Linked DNA regions of Homo sapiens: all the other regions are linked to region 4. Evidence: promoter capture Hi-C in 16 types of primary human blood cells and fetal thymus (Javierre and others, 2016). All regions are on one chromosome and are shown on one strand. The core of a region is centred on a gene start or on the middle of the fragment in contact, and the rest is flanking DNA. Distances in the headings are between cores, read along the strand shown.

Region 1 (2,700 bases), core at 54-2,553, 320 kb after region 4:
CTTTAGCGCCACTCTTGGTTACCACCATTTTCAGTTTCCCTTCTCAGCATGTCATTCATAGCTTACAGTGTCCTCCTGGTCACACATTTCTTTCAGCTTTTGTCATTACAGTTGAATAGAGACCATTTAACATTCTAGAGTTGGCTGCATGCAAGCATTAAAACCTTTGAGAGAACACAGAGCACCAGAGAGACTGTTATTATGACTATCTACAGGATAATAACAAGAGTTTGGAATATGCTCCTTACCCAGGGTTCCCAAAAACCAAACCACCTAAAATCAAATAGATCAAAGAGCAAGCTAAACAGTCCACTCGCTTAACTAAGTGGTCTTTTTGTTAATCCCCTACAACGGAATCTCTGTAATACCTTATGTATATCTCCCTAGGCCAGAAGTGCCAGCAGATACATAGACACTTTTCTGTCTAGCCAGTTCTATTACTTACCTTAACTTTCACAAGAGAATTGAAAGTCTTCTGTGTAACTACAGCCTTTACAGTAAAATCTGCTATAGAGCCTATTGTAAGGGATACATCTCTGATCATCACCTCTTTTATTCAAAAACATGGAAAAAGGACCTAACAAATGATGCCCTTCTAGAAGAGTGAAGGCCTCCTGGCAATGTTCTCTTTAATCCATGATACGGGTTAAGAGGAGTGAACCAATGTACTGTTTCTGACTGACTATGAGGCAACGTATGTACCATTAAAGTTCCCCACATCGGGCCTTCATCTTTTGTCTATCAAAGTATAAGGTTATCCATGTATAAGGCTGGCTGCAAAATCCTTCACAAATAAAAGTATACCCCATAAGTGCATGCAGCAGACACCCTCTTCATTTCTATTGTTCACAGAGGCATAAGCAAGGAAAAAATTTTCAAAGATAAGAGTCTCATGACAGTAGAAGTCTTCATCCACGATCTTAGGAAAAGCCATTCACATCAAGGTTGCCATATTCGTCTGGGGAGAGACTTCCTTGGTTAGCTTTACCTTAAAGTTTCCACTGGGTGTATAGTTCCAAGAGCGTGGAGGGACCCTTCTCAGTTGTGCGATTATGAACCCAAGTTTCAAGATCCTAAAGTTTTGTTGCAGTGTGAATGGCAAGGACAGTCTTTCTCTGATGTTTTCAGAAGATGCAATTTTCAGGTTCTAGATGATGAAGGGGTTGACTGTCCTCAGTGAATCACAAAAAGCTTTCTTTACCTGGTGAAAATATACTGTAACACAGTAATCTACTACATCTTATTATTATTATATTATTATGCTTCATACATGTAGCATAATAATCTATTACATAATATCAGCACTCTTGCACGGAAGAGCTTTTATACAACTAGAAAACATGCACCGAAAATAACAATTGAATGAAATCCTTTTATAAAATGTTTAAATGGCCCATCAGGTAACCAAATGTACCTGAAGCTTTGATTGTTTTTCCCAGGAATATGGGTTAACAAACCAAACATTGGTTATAAGCTATTTTAGCAATTTATAAGTTACCACACCAATATATTTAATTTGGATTATTTTGTCTTTCCCATGATGAGTCATGGAATGCAGAACTTTTAATAACAAAAGCTTTAAGGACTCAGGAAGAACAAAGTGGCTGTCCTGGTTCTCCATGAGTCCATGCTTGATTAACATTAGACTTATGTCCTCTTCAATACCAGTTGTTTCTCCAAATTAGGTGCATAGCACTGATAATTGATGGGTTGTCATAGGTAATTTGACTTAGATCATGGATTTCATTCAAATTTCATCAGGACAGAGGATGGAACTCAGAGGTGAGAGGGTTGGACTCTGGATGTTTCCTTTGGAAAACTGCAGACAGTAAGTGATCCTATGTGTATGTGTGGCGGAGACTGGAGACTGTGCAGGGCTTGGAGAACCCATGAGGCTCCCATGGACTTATTTACTCCCAGCTGCAATATCAGCAAGCCACTGTTGACCCAGATCCTATGTGGCCAGCTGCCCTGCTATTTGAGTCCTCCTTGCGGCTGGGCGCAGTGGCACACACCTGTAATCTTAGTACTTCGGGAGGCCGAGGTGGGTGAATCACAAGGCCAGGCATTCGAGACCAGCCTGGCCAACATAGTGAAACCCCATCTCTACTAGAAATACAAAAATTAGCTGGGCGTGGTGGCGGGAGCATGTAATCCCAACTACTCGGGAGGCTGAGGCAGGAGAATCGGTTGAACCTGGGAAGTAGAGGTTGCAGTGAGCTGAGATTGTGCCACTGCACTCCAGCCAGGACAACAGTGGGAGACTCCATCTCAAAAAAAGAAAAAGTCCTCTTTGCATAGTTTTGTATTTGTAGGAGTGCTTATGGGTGCTGAAGGGTCTGTAGGAAAGATGGACTTTATCAGATTAATGTAAAATTTACAGGATATACACTAGCTAATAGCAAGGAAATCCTTTACTCAATATACTCACAAAATGGATTAGAAAACCAAAAACAAACACTACAATAAACCACCAAATCATGCCTTGCTCCAATGTCTCTTCCTGTATCTCTTCCTGTATTTTTCACTGCTCCTTATAAGAGGTTCATGTAATGCTTTCTTTGTAGAATTTCATAGTGGGAAATTTCATCTTTCATGAAGAGCTTGTAGGCTTCCTGCAACAACCATGGAAATGTGTCCACTGGATCTCTCTCCAAGAAGGAACTTGCCAATCAGCCATGAGAAGTGCAGTGAGCTGTC
Region 2 (2,700 bases), core at 95-2,594, 410 kb after region 4:
ACTGCGGGAGAAGAGGTCATATAACTTCCACTTACTTAGATACCTAATAATTGATGGAGTCAGGATTTGAATCAGGTAATTGGGCTGCAAAATTCATGCTGTTAAGCACCATCCCTTACTGATATTGTGGTAATGAACAAGCTGGACAAGGTCCCTGGTCTCATGGAACTTACATTCTGGCACTGGAGATGTAGAGGAGAAGACAGAGTGGGGCAAGGTTTAGATTGTAGAATCAGAAAAACTGGATCCTTATAAGAGAAAGAGCAGTCAGGGCAAATTCACAAGACACTGGCTTTGTGATTGGTGGATAGTTGTGTCAGTCATGGAGTTAGGAAATACAAGCTAGGGGTGGTAGGGTGGCGGAAGGTGAACTTGGAGGGATGAGTTCATTTTGGGATAAACTGGTGTTGGACTGACTGTGGGATATGGAGGTGGAGCCATCGAGTGAGCAGTTGAAGTCATGTGTCCAGAGCATAGAAAAGATGTTTATATGGAGACAATGGGGGGATCAAAGATGGGGGGACAGTTGGAGACATAGGCGGAAAACAATAGCTAGAAGACAGGCTTAGTCCAAGAGTTCATAAAGGAAAAGATTGATAAATTCAACTGCCTTAAAATGAAGACCTTGTGTTCATCAAAAGACATATTTAAAAGAATAAAAAGATAGGAAACAAAACCAGAGAGATGCTTGCAACACATATAACTGCCACAGCCCAAGCATCCAGATTATCTTCAGAACTCATACAAATCAGTAAGAAAAGTCAGTAGAAAAATGGACAAAAGATACAGGCAGATACTTCATAAAAGAGGAAATATAAGATGACCAATAAATAAATGAAAAAGTACCAAACCTCATTAGAAATCTTAGAAATGCAAATTAAAGCTATAATACATCACATATTATATAAATCATATTGGCCAAAAATAAAATGTCTGACAATAAAAAGTGTTGGTGACGATATGGTGCAAACAGAATTCTCACTTGTTGCTAGTGGAAATGTGAATTGGTATAACCACTTGGTAGAAGTTTGGCACTGTCATGGAAACTTGAAGATTCACATGCCCTAAGACCTAGGAACTCCATGCCTAGGTGCATAACCTGATATGCTCATATGCCACAATATATATACGAAAATCTGTAAGGCAGCATTGTTTGTTATATCCTTTGTACTAGACAGCTTCTATGATGGCTCCCTAAGATTTCTGCCTCCTGATATTCATGCCTTTCTGTAATCTTCTCTCCTTAAGTGTGAACTGGACCCAGCAACTTCTTCTAACAAATAGAGCATGACAAAATTGATGGGATATCACTTCTGAGATTAGATTACAAAAGGATGTGACTTCTGCCTTGCTCACACTCTCTCTCTGGCCCTCTTGCGTGCTTGCTCTCATGAAGCTGGCTGTCATATTGTCAGCTGCCCTATGGAAGGACCCATATGGCAAGGACTCAAGGGAAGCCTCTTGCCAACAGCTGGTGAGGAACTGAAGCCATCAGTCTAACAGCCTGTGATAAAATGGTTCTTGCCAACAACCACTTAAGCGAATTCAGCATCGAATCATCCCCAGCTCAAGCCTTAAGATGAGACCATAGCCCCAGCTAACACCTTGATTACAGTCTTGTGAGAGACCAGAGCCAGAGGACCTAGCCAAGAGTCCATGCCTGGAGTCTCAATCTACAGAAACTGTCACATAATACATGGTGTTTTAATCCACTGTGTTTTGGCATGATTTGTCACACAGCAAGATAACTAATACAAATCACCAAACTAGAGATCCCTCAAATGGTCATCAAAAGTAGAATGGATAAGCTGGGCTGGGCTCAGTGTCCCATGCTTGAGCCCAGGAGCTCAAGATTGTAGTGTGCAATGATCACACCTAGAAATAGCCACTTCACTCCATCCTGGGCAACATAGTGAGAGCCAAAAATAAAAAATAAAAATAATAAATAAATAGGAGTCATTGAATGAATTTCAAGGTGGGAGTGGCCAATGGTGCCAACTGTTCTAGAGTCAAATACCAAAAGAAGTGAAGTTTCCCGACTGGATGCGACAAGTTGCAGGTTTGCAGACCTGATTCTGAGATGGCCCTCGAGATTCCCATCTTTGGCACCCCTCTCCATTTTTGTGGGTGGGATCTGTGACTATAATGGGATCACTGCTCCCTTGATTAGGTGCTGTTATATGAGACTCCATCTGAGCAGACTGTCTAGTAATTCACAGCTGGCCCCAAAGAAGCAAATGGCCTTGTTATGAACTACTTACCTCAGGTCCTAGCCGCATGGCCCCCTTCAAAGGCTAAGAGTGACTCTCACCAACCAGCAAAGACAAAATAGGATGTCATTTCTACAGCTACAAGGAACTGGTTTCTGCCCACAACCCCAAGCTCCAGAAGGAATTCAGCCCAGCAAACACCCGGATTTCAGTCTGTAAGACTCTGAGCAGAGACCCCAGCCACACTATGCCTGGATTCCTGACTCCTTGTAACTGTGAGATAATAAAAGGCTAATGTTTTATGTCAATAAATTTCTTGTATTTTGTTATGCAATAGAAGAAAATAAATATAGCAGGTCATCAATGACCTAAGGGCAGAGTAGGTGATAGAGATCATGTGAAGTCTTTAAAATAGGATTATGACATACTTTCCCTACCCAGTTGACCTCCTGCCTGGATTTAATAAAGCCTCCTTGACTTTGTTACCTGG
Region 3 (2,700 bases), core at 105-2,604, 300 kb after region 4:
CTGGAAAAGGAAGTAAAGCAGTAAAGGACTAACCCTGCTTGAGCACTGTGGCTTGGTGGGCTTTGGGGGTGAGAGTGGCTTTGTGCTGTCAGAGAAGCAGGGCGCCCAGGGAAAAACATGAGTCAGAAGCAGCAGAAGTGAAGGCAGAGGTGCACTTTAGCCCCATGCCATGCTTGCCACCCTAACAGCCTTTCAGGCAAGTCAGCGTGCCCTTGGTTTCCTAGCAGGCGCGCCCTCCCAGGTGGAGTCCTGGGGCTGAACACATCCCCTGGACCCACATGGAGTTTCCAGGATCTGAGTTCATGACACTAATTGCTGGTTTATCCTTTTCTCCTCCGGGGAAATTCTTACGGCTGGGAAGATTCCCTCTGATATTTTAGAAGAACATAATAATTAAGCATTTTAAGGGGAGGAGGCTTGTAGAAGTTCAAATTAGATGCTATATGGGGAAATTATAGCTGCTGCCGCCAAGAAGCAGCAGCAAGAAAGGCTGTCAGCAAGAAGTTGCGTGCAACGGCGACAGGAATGGGCCCACTTTGGACCAGCAGGGCTAGGCGTGCTTCCCCTTCCTGCACCTCTGCCCATTCCACCTCAGGTCCAGGCGCTGCCCAGGGCCCAACAGACCAGGGAGCAGCTGGATTCTCATCTCCCAAAACCACACAAGAAGTCCTGGCCTTCTCAGATGGTGGGCATGAAGGGGTGGGACCCCCCACTCCATGGACCACCTTCCTCCTGTGTCTACCCCACCAGCAAATCATGGGCAAGGAGGGCCATGGGGCTGCTGGTGAAATGGCACAGTTCCCTGATTCCCCTCGCAGGACATGGGGCTGCTGGTGAAATGGGACAGTTCCCTGATTCCCCTCGCAGGACATGCGACAGGGGTGTTGCCTGCTTGGTCATCCTGCAGATCAAACCCCTGGCGGGAGCATGCAGACAGGAAGGTACAGAGGCTGGGGCGAGTGCTTTTGGGATCCTGCCCCACGCAGCATCTAGGGGCGGATGTCCGTGCCTCCCGAAGCCCAAGTGAGCAGTGTGTTACAGGCTCTTTCAGGTTTGCCATCTGCAGATGGCTTGTGTGTTAATCAGCTCAATGGACAAAGTGTGACAGCTTTCTCTATCATCTGGAGCTCTTGCCTAGTGTGCGGGAAAAATAGGATCACACGTGGTCTCGAAGGATGAGTGCAAGATTTTATTGAGTAGTGGAGGTGCCTCTCAGCAAGATGGATGGAGAGTCGGGAGGAGGCATGGAGTGGGAAGGTGGTCTTCCCCTGAAGTCCAGCTGTTCTCGGCCCCTTAGGTCCTTCTCTGCCGTGCTGCCCTACTGCTTTTTGTCGCTCTGTTCCTCTGCTCCTCTCCGTGTTCAGCCGCTTGTGTGTCTGAGCCTGCTAAGATCTGGGGTTTCTATGGGCACAAGATGGGGGGCATGACAGGCCAGAGTGGTCTTGGAAAATGCAACATTCGGACATAAAAACAGGAGTGCTTGTTCTCACTTAAGTCCGCAGGCACAGGCCTGAGGGTGGAGCCCCGGCGAGGGACTCCGCCCTTCTCTAGCCAGCACTTCCCTGCCCCCGTGTCCACTGCGTCTTCCCCCTGAGCTGTCGAGGCTGTTTTCAGGAGCCGGTGGTGAGGAATCCCAAGATGGGAAGATAGTGCCTCCTCCCTCCTCCCAGGCCTCCAGGAGGCTGCCCTCCAGGACAGAGGACAGAGAAGGGGAGATTCCTGCTGGCATTCTCTGCTGGTGTATGGGCTCTGAAGTGGGCCCAGGAATTCATGCCATCCAAAGGAGGAGGACCCAGGAGTTCTGTTGGCCTCACACCTTCTGTCCAGAGAAGCAGTTCTGGGGACAGAGAAGTGCTGGGGCGCAGGGTGGCCGAGGCTGCGCGTCCACATCTCATCATTCCTGGACTGTTGAGATTGGCCATTGGTGACTTTACCTCCTGTCTGCGCTGTGCCAGCAAAGGTGGAGCCCACACCCTGGGGTAGAACAGCTCTTGCTCAGGGAGGGCCCGCTCTGGGCATGGTTGGGCTCGGGGCTTCGTTGGGCCCGGGGCATGGTTGGGCTCCACGCCTGAGTCTCCCTGCAGCTCCCACGTGTGTGCCTCCTCCTCAGTGAGACATAGTCCCTGCAGTGTTTAAAGGTGGGGATCACATGTTTTGCTCAGTGGCTTTGGGGACTGGGTGTTTCTCCTCTCAAACAAAATTGGGAGCCTTCTGGGTCTTTGGCCCCGCCTGCCTCTGCATGAGTGTTTATGGGATTCCTGTAACCAGGCAGACCCATTTCCAGATTCGTAGAGGATGGCAGCCCGCCTGTGTAAATGCCATGGTTGCCTGACATGGATTGGCACTGGGGCTGGCCCAAGGACCCGGGGCCCTGCTTGGCGTCGGCTGCCCCTGAGCTGCTCGCTTTCTTTGGCATTCACAGAGGGGCCTTTGTATAGTTAGCAGCCTACACAGAGCTCTTTAGGCCATGACCATGGTGGAGTCAGGTTGGAGCGGGGGCCCAAAAGCAGCTGCAAGGCCAGGTCCCTGGGGCACAGAGGAATGTGTGGAGTCTGGCGGGGGGCTGTCAAGTCCAGGTTGCTTAGTACAGACCACGCAGGGAACACGGGAATCCAGATGGCAAGATCTCAGGGTCAGATGAAGCAGCAGGTAGTGGGAAAACCAGACCGGGAAGGCCAAGTCAGTGTCCACCATCCCATC
Region 4 (2,700 bases), core at 100-2,599:
CATGCTTTAGAAAATACTGGGTTTCTTATCTCTTAATGTGTGTAAAATAAACTTGGAATGTCACTTTGGGTTACCATAAGTTTGTATCTAAAGATTTTATTTGACATTTGAATAATTTGCTTAAAATTTAAATATTTAAGAATGTTATAGTAATAAAGGGATCAAAATAGTTAATCTGGAAGGGGAGTTGACAAATTATAAAACAGAAAACTATATTTGATTGTGCATATCCAAAAAGCCAGAGCTATCACTTCAGCAATTTAATGTATCTAATGCCTGTGATTTGCTTGAGGTCGGTAGAAGCTTATATAGTCACTTTCAGAGCACTCCCCTGAGAAAATGTCAAGACTTGAATTTGCTTCTCTAATGCAGAGCTTCTCAAGTAGTTTGTCTCAAGCTATTGATCGAAGCCTTCTGGGTGTCTAGCTGGGCAGCACTTAAGGTGGCTGGAGCTCCCAGGCTGGTCGCCTCCAGAATTCCAAACAACTAATTTTCTCTATCTGCCATGATGTAAAAAATGCTGTGAAACACCACAGTGGGACAGGCATGGACAGGCATGCAGGCAGTGGGGTGCATGTATGTGGTTTAATACTGAAAATAAGGATACAAAAATCCTGCCAGGTGATGCTCCTGTAATTCTCAAGGAGCGGCAGTGATTTGTTATTTCACATTTTTCCTCACTCTATCCTTGCCCCTGACACACACACTGCAAGTCACTGATTGGAGCAGGCCAGTTCCTTCAGGTGAAGGGGCCTAGAGAAATGTCGGTGAATACCCAGTGAATACCACGCTGTGAAACTCTGCATCTGAGGCACGCAGTGGGGCTTTGGTTCTCTCCTCTCACCAGGGGTTTGACCTTTCAACCACCTCAGAAAAAAGGAAAGGTGGAAGCAGGAAGGGGGACCAGCAGCTCCAGGCAAGCAATGCTAATTAGCTCCAGCGTAATGACCCAACATCAGTTCTTAGCTGAATTTTAACAGTCCATTTGAAAACATTTTCTAGATAAATGAAAATGGAAAGAGCTCTAGAAAATGTTTAAGTGTTACATACTTAAAATAGTATATTTACTTATTGAAGTTAAATGCCAAGATGTAGAACTAGTGTGTTATTTTCTTGGTACAGATTACAATGCTGTGTTTCAGTGAAGGAGCTAATTGAAATGATTAGTAGATAGATGTAATCAGAAAAATATTAAATGAAGATAGTAATTTCTAAAGCAGGAAATAAAGACAGTTACAAGTCTGTTCTTATTTTTCCAATCTGTTATATAACTCCTCCCACCCATTAACCTTAACTAAATGTATGATTCATTTGTTAAACAAATACTGAGTTCCAGCTACGTGTAAGGCATCATAGGGGCAGAAGATACAGCAGTGAACATAACAGGTAAAACCCTCCCCCTCTGCCAAGGGGCAGGACAGGGAGGAAAGGGAAGACAGAGACAGGTGGAATATGGAGTGTTCAGTGTTGGTAAGTGCTAAGGAGAAAAAATGAAACAGGAGGTAAGATGCAGAGGGTGGTGGTGAAGGCAATGGGAGGTTGCCTTGAAAGCGGAGCTCAGTGTAGTCTCCATTTGAGTTAAAGACTGGAAATGAGCAAGGAAACAGTCTAAGGAAAGAAAGACTAATAGAGCAGCCAGCAGAGAGCTCTCTGCAGAGAGAGAGGGCGGACCTGTGTGGTCAGGGAATTGCAGGAAGAAGGCCCGTGGGGTTAGAGTGATGTCAGTGGTGGGAGAGTAGTACAAGATGGCGTCAGAAAGCTCGTAGGGGTTAGGTATACAGCCTTGTAGGCCATTATGAGGAGTTTGGCTTTTACTCTAGGTGAGACGGGAACCCACTGGAGAGTTTTAAGCAAAGACATGACATGGTCTCACTTAGGATTTAACAATTCTGGCTCCTTTTCGAGCGTAGACTGGAGGGGGCCAATTAGGAGGCTGCTGCAATAATCTAGGTGAGAGACGACGGCAAGGGTGAGAGATGATAGACCAGGGTGGTAGCAGTGGAGTAATGAAAAGTATGATTCCAGAAATATCCAAGACAATTTCCTGGCAGATTTGATGTGAGGTGTGATTAAAGAAGAACCAAGAATGACTTTAGTGTTGTTGGCCTGAGCAACTGGAAGAACAGAGTTGCCATTTATTGAGATGAGAAGGCTGCCAGAAGAGTAGAGGTAAATGTGTGAGTATGTGTGTGTTGGGGGGATGGAGGGAGAGTTGCACTGAAAGCATGAGCAAAGATTTAGACAAATTAGGATTGAGATGTCCATTAGACAACTAAGAAGAGATGTCAAGCAGGTAGTTGGATCTGTGAGACTCAGGGAAAAAGTCTGACCTGGAGAATATAAATGTTACAATCATCTGTGTGTGGATAGTATTGAAAGCCACAGGGCCAAAGGAGATCATCAAGAAAGCAGATAGGAAAGAGAAGAGGTCCAATCACTGAGCCCTGGGGTAATACAATATTTAAAAGGTCAGAGAGATTATATGGCCTGTTAATTACATTATATACTTAGGAACTATCCTTCATAGTCTGTATTTGGGGTTTTTAAGAAACAAAAGGTAGAGGTGCTCCCAAGAATTAAACTGAGCCGGGCGCAGTGGCTCATGCCTGTAATCCCAGCACTTTGGGAGGCTGAGGCAGGAGGATCGCTTGAGTCCAGAAGTTCAAGACCAGCCTGGGCAATATAGGGAGACTCCGTCTC
Region 5 (2,700 bases), core at 36-2,535, 280 kb after region 4:
AGTGCTGCCAAACTTCAATGGGAGGCTGATGATGAGGAGTGAGGTGGGGAGGCCAGACCCGGGTATGTCTGCCTACAGCGGTAGAGTAGCACACACCCGTGAGCGTAGGCATATTACTCAATTCTTTAAGCCTCAATTTCCTCATCTGAAAGGGAATGCAGTAATGCTTTATAAGAAGACGTCAAGGATTAAATGAGATTTAATAGGAATCCAATAAAGGTGAGTTCCTGTCTGCATTCCTCAATCCCTCACCCTCTCCTGTTCCCTTCCAGTAAACCAGCACGTAGAGACGAGGCCTGCAAGTAACCCATCTCCCCTCGTCTCTGTGATGGGACCAGAGATCCACCACCAGCATCCTCTTTTCCCTCCTTATAAACATGACTTCTATTTGTCCCTCAACATCTTTGAATTCTGAACTTTTAGGGTTCTCATAAGAAAGTAATTGGCCGGTAAACTGAGGTCTGGGCTGGGAAAATCCTGACCAGGGCTTTCTCCAGGAGATGAGGTTGAGGAGAAGGTGCCCCCATCATGGTGGATCAAAACAGCCAGAAATAGCCCAAAGGCCTTTGGGAGGCCCAGTGGCTCAGGCACTTAACATGGGTATCGCAGGGGAATCTGGGATGACAAAGATCCTCAGAACCCCCCAGCAGCCATCCAGAGCTCCAGGACCTCAGAAACAGCCGCTGAGGCTTAGGAGCTGTCCTTGGAGCCAGTCTGATCCGGCCTGGTGGGAACAGAAACTTGTGAAGTCCTGCAGCCCTCTGTCCCTGCCTACGGATCAGACCCAAGCTCCCTCAGTGAGAGAGGGTCACTCTGCCAGGGGTAGGTGAATCTTTCATGTTGGCACCTTCCCCACCCCCTAGGGACAACTGGAGAGGGCTGGTGGTTCCTGTCTCCAAGCTCTTCTCCATAAATTACAGGCTTCTCAGTTTTCTGTGACTGATCTGATTACCTCTGGCATGTTTCAGGTTCAAATAATGTTGTCCACCTTTCCCAGAAACTGGATATTGGGCTATTCCCTGGCCAATTGCTCCCTGATATCAGGAAGGAGCCAGGGTGGAGGTAGCAAGTCTCATTGCCCAAAATCTCTGATGGCCGTGAGCAGAGCTGGGGGCCAATGGGCCGGACGAAGTCATGGATTCCTGAGGGAAGAGGCAGCTTGTAGACCTCACAGGATCCACACACGCCCCCACCCACATCAGGACCAAAGTCAAGGCCAGTCTGTGATCTTTGTGCTCCCCTCAGCTCCCAGGACTCCTTGGAGACAGACGAAGTACCATCCAGGCTGGACATCCCTGGTTCTGACCTGGCCTCTGGGCTCAGCATTGTCCTGCAGCCTGGCCTTAGCTACCTCCATGGATGAACCTTATTTGAATGATGGACATTTTATTTTTTGAGACAGAGTCTTGCTCTGTCTCCCAGCCTGGAGTGCAGTGGCATGATCTCGGCTCACTGCAATTTCTGCCTCTCTGGTTCAAGTGATTCTCCTGCCTCAGCCTCCCAAGTAGTAGAGATTACAGGAAAATGCCACCACACCCAGCTAATTTTTGTATTTTTAGTAGAGATGGGATTTCACCATGTTGGCCAGGCTGGTCTTGAACTCCTGACCTCAGGTGATCTGACTGCCTCGGCCTCCCAAAGTGCTGGGATTACAGGCGTGAACCACTACACTCAGCCCTGAATGACGGACTTTTATGGAACAGAAACTAGCTTGGTCTATTTTAAGCAGAGTAAAAAGATTTTTGCGAGAAGAATTGGGGTGCCTCATGGAACCCATGGGCAGGCTTCCCAAGGGGCTGGAAGCAAGAAATCTCTCCCCTGGTCTCTGTCTCTGCTGTCTCTCTCGGTTTGTCTCTGTGTCCGCTTCCTTCACTCTCTCTCTCTTTCTCCTCCCTCTCTCTCTCTGGATTGACTTTCTCTGCTCACTTTGCACTTGGTTTGTCGGGGCTACTCCAAAATGGTGCCCTCAGCCCTGGGTCCGCACCACCCAGCTCCAGCAGCAAACTGACCCAGGCTGTTAGAGTCCGAGTTGCAAATTTCAAGAGCGACAATCTGACTGGGCCAGTCTGGCCTCTGGGTCAGTTCCCCGGGGTCAGGTCTCTGCAGGATGATGTTCAACCATCGCAGCCAAGGAGCAACAGAGCCACGAGAACATCACTCTGGCTTCTCCCTGGGCAGCAGAAGGAAGGTGGAGAAGACACCTCCAAAAGGCATCTGTCACAGGTTGAGGCCAACATCCCCATCAGCTCTGAGGCCGAACAGTGCCTCCCTACATCTACCTGCCAAGGGCACTGGCAGGGCTTAAGGTGAGACAAATAAAAATGCAAGGTGGCCGGGTCCTGTCTCTCCTTACAGGCAGCAGGAAACTCTTGCCCCAGCCTGCTGCTCCCTTAGTCCCACCCAGGCCCCTATTCAAGGAGTGAATTCCAGAGAAGGAAACAGGAGCCCCAGCCTCCTCACAGTGCCACAGTTAGACACTGGTGCCAGCAGGCACTTCCTCAACACCTCCAGCCCCAGGCGCTTCCTCCCTGAGAGCAATTCCATCTGGGTTAATGGCCCAGCCCATCTAATGTGCCCGGTAATCCCTCTGAAGCTGCCTTTGTTCGTCTCCTCTGGTTAATCCAGCCCCAGCAACTGAGCTGCCCCCAGCCTGCCCCTGGCCTGTGGCTTAGGCCTGGCTGGGGTTTGCCTCTGTTTGAC

The links. The method cuts DNA at HindIII sites, captures the fragments that hold promoters and counts their contacts. A CHiCAGO score of 5 or more calls a contact.
Region 1: a contact is called between a fragment that was not itself captured here and the fragment with the promoter of FAM177B in region 4, in 2 of 17 cell types (megakaryocytes and erythroblasts). The highest score is 6.0, in megakaryocytes.
Region 2: a contact is called between a fragment that was not itself captured here and the fragment with the promoter of FAM177B in region 4, in 3 of 17 cell types (naive B cells, total B cells and megakaryocytes). The highest score is 7.2, in naive B cells.
Region 3: a contact is called between a fragment that was not itself captured here and the fragment with the promoter of FAM177B in region 4, in 1 of 17 cell types (megakaryocytes). The highest score is 5.3, in megakaryocytes.
Region 5: a fragment that was not itself captured here is called in contact with the fragment with the promoter of FAM177B in region 4 in 3 of 17 cell types (naive B cells, megakaryocytes and erythroblasts); the score reaches 7.2 in naive B cells.

What each region holds. Positions count from the first base shown.
Region 1 is chr1:223,057,738-223,060,437 of GRCh38, forward strand. LOC124904520 (a long non-coding RNA gene) reads left to right here and starts at 2,568. Exons shown (of 2, transcript XR_007066890.1): 1 at 2,568-2,700. The HindIII fragment of the contact is 229 bases long and covers 1,190-1,418 here.
Region 2 is chr1:223,146,640-223,149,339 of GRCh38, forward strand. LOC124904522 (a long non-coding RNA gene) reads left to right here. Exons shown (of 2, transcript XR_007066895.1): 2 at 1,249-2,518. Among named protein-coding and RNA genes, the nearest start is that of TLR5, 4.7 kb to the left of the region's middle. The HindIII fragment of the contact is 4,461 bases long and covers 1-2,700 here.
Region 3 is chr1:223,036,469-223,039,168 of GRCh38, forward strand. No RefSeq gene overlaps it. Among named protein-coding and RNA genes, the nearest start is that of TLR5, 110 kb to the right of the region's middle. RefSeq lists enhancers at 182-862, 1,543-2,222. The HindIII fragment of the contact is 4,357 bases long and covers 1-2,700 here.
Region 4 is chr1:222,735,853-222,738,552 of GRCh38, forward strand. FAM177B (family with sequence similarity 177 member B) reads left to right here and starts at 1,350. Exons shown (of 6, transcript NM_001394345.1): 1 at 1,350-1,470; 2 at 2,052-2,169. RefSeq lists an enhancer at 592-1,133. The HindIII fragment of the contact is 3,071 bases long and covers 302-2,700 here.
Region 5 is chr1:223,020,188-223,022,887 of GRCh38, forward strand. No RefSeq gene overlaps it. Among named protein-coding and RNA genes, the nearest start is that of TLR5, 120 kb to the right of the region's middle. RefSeq lists an enhancer at 2,466-2,700. The HindIII fragment of the contact is 3,936 bases long and covers 1-2,700 here.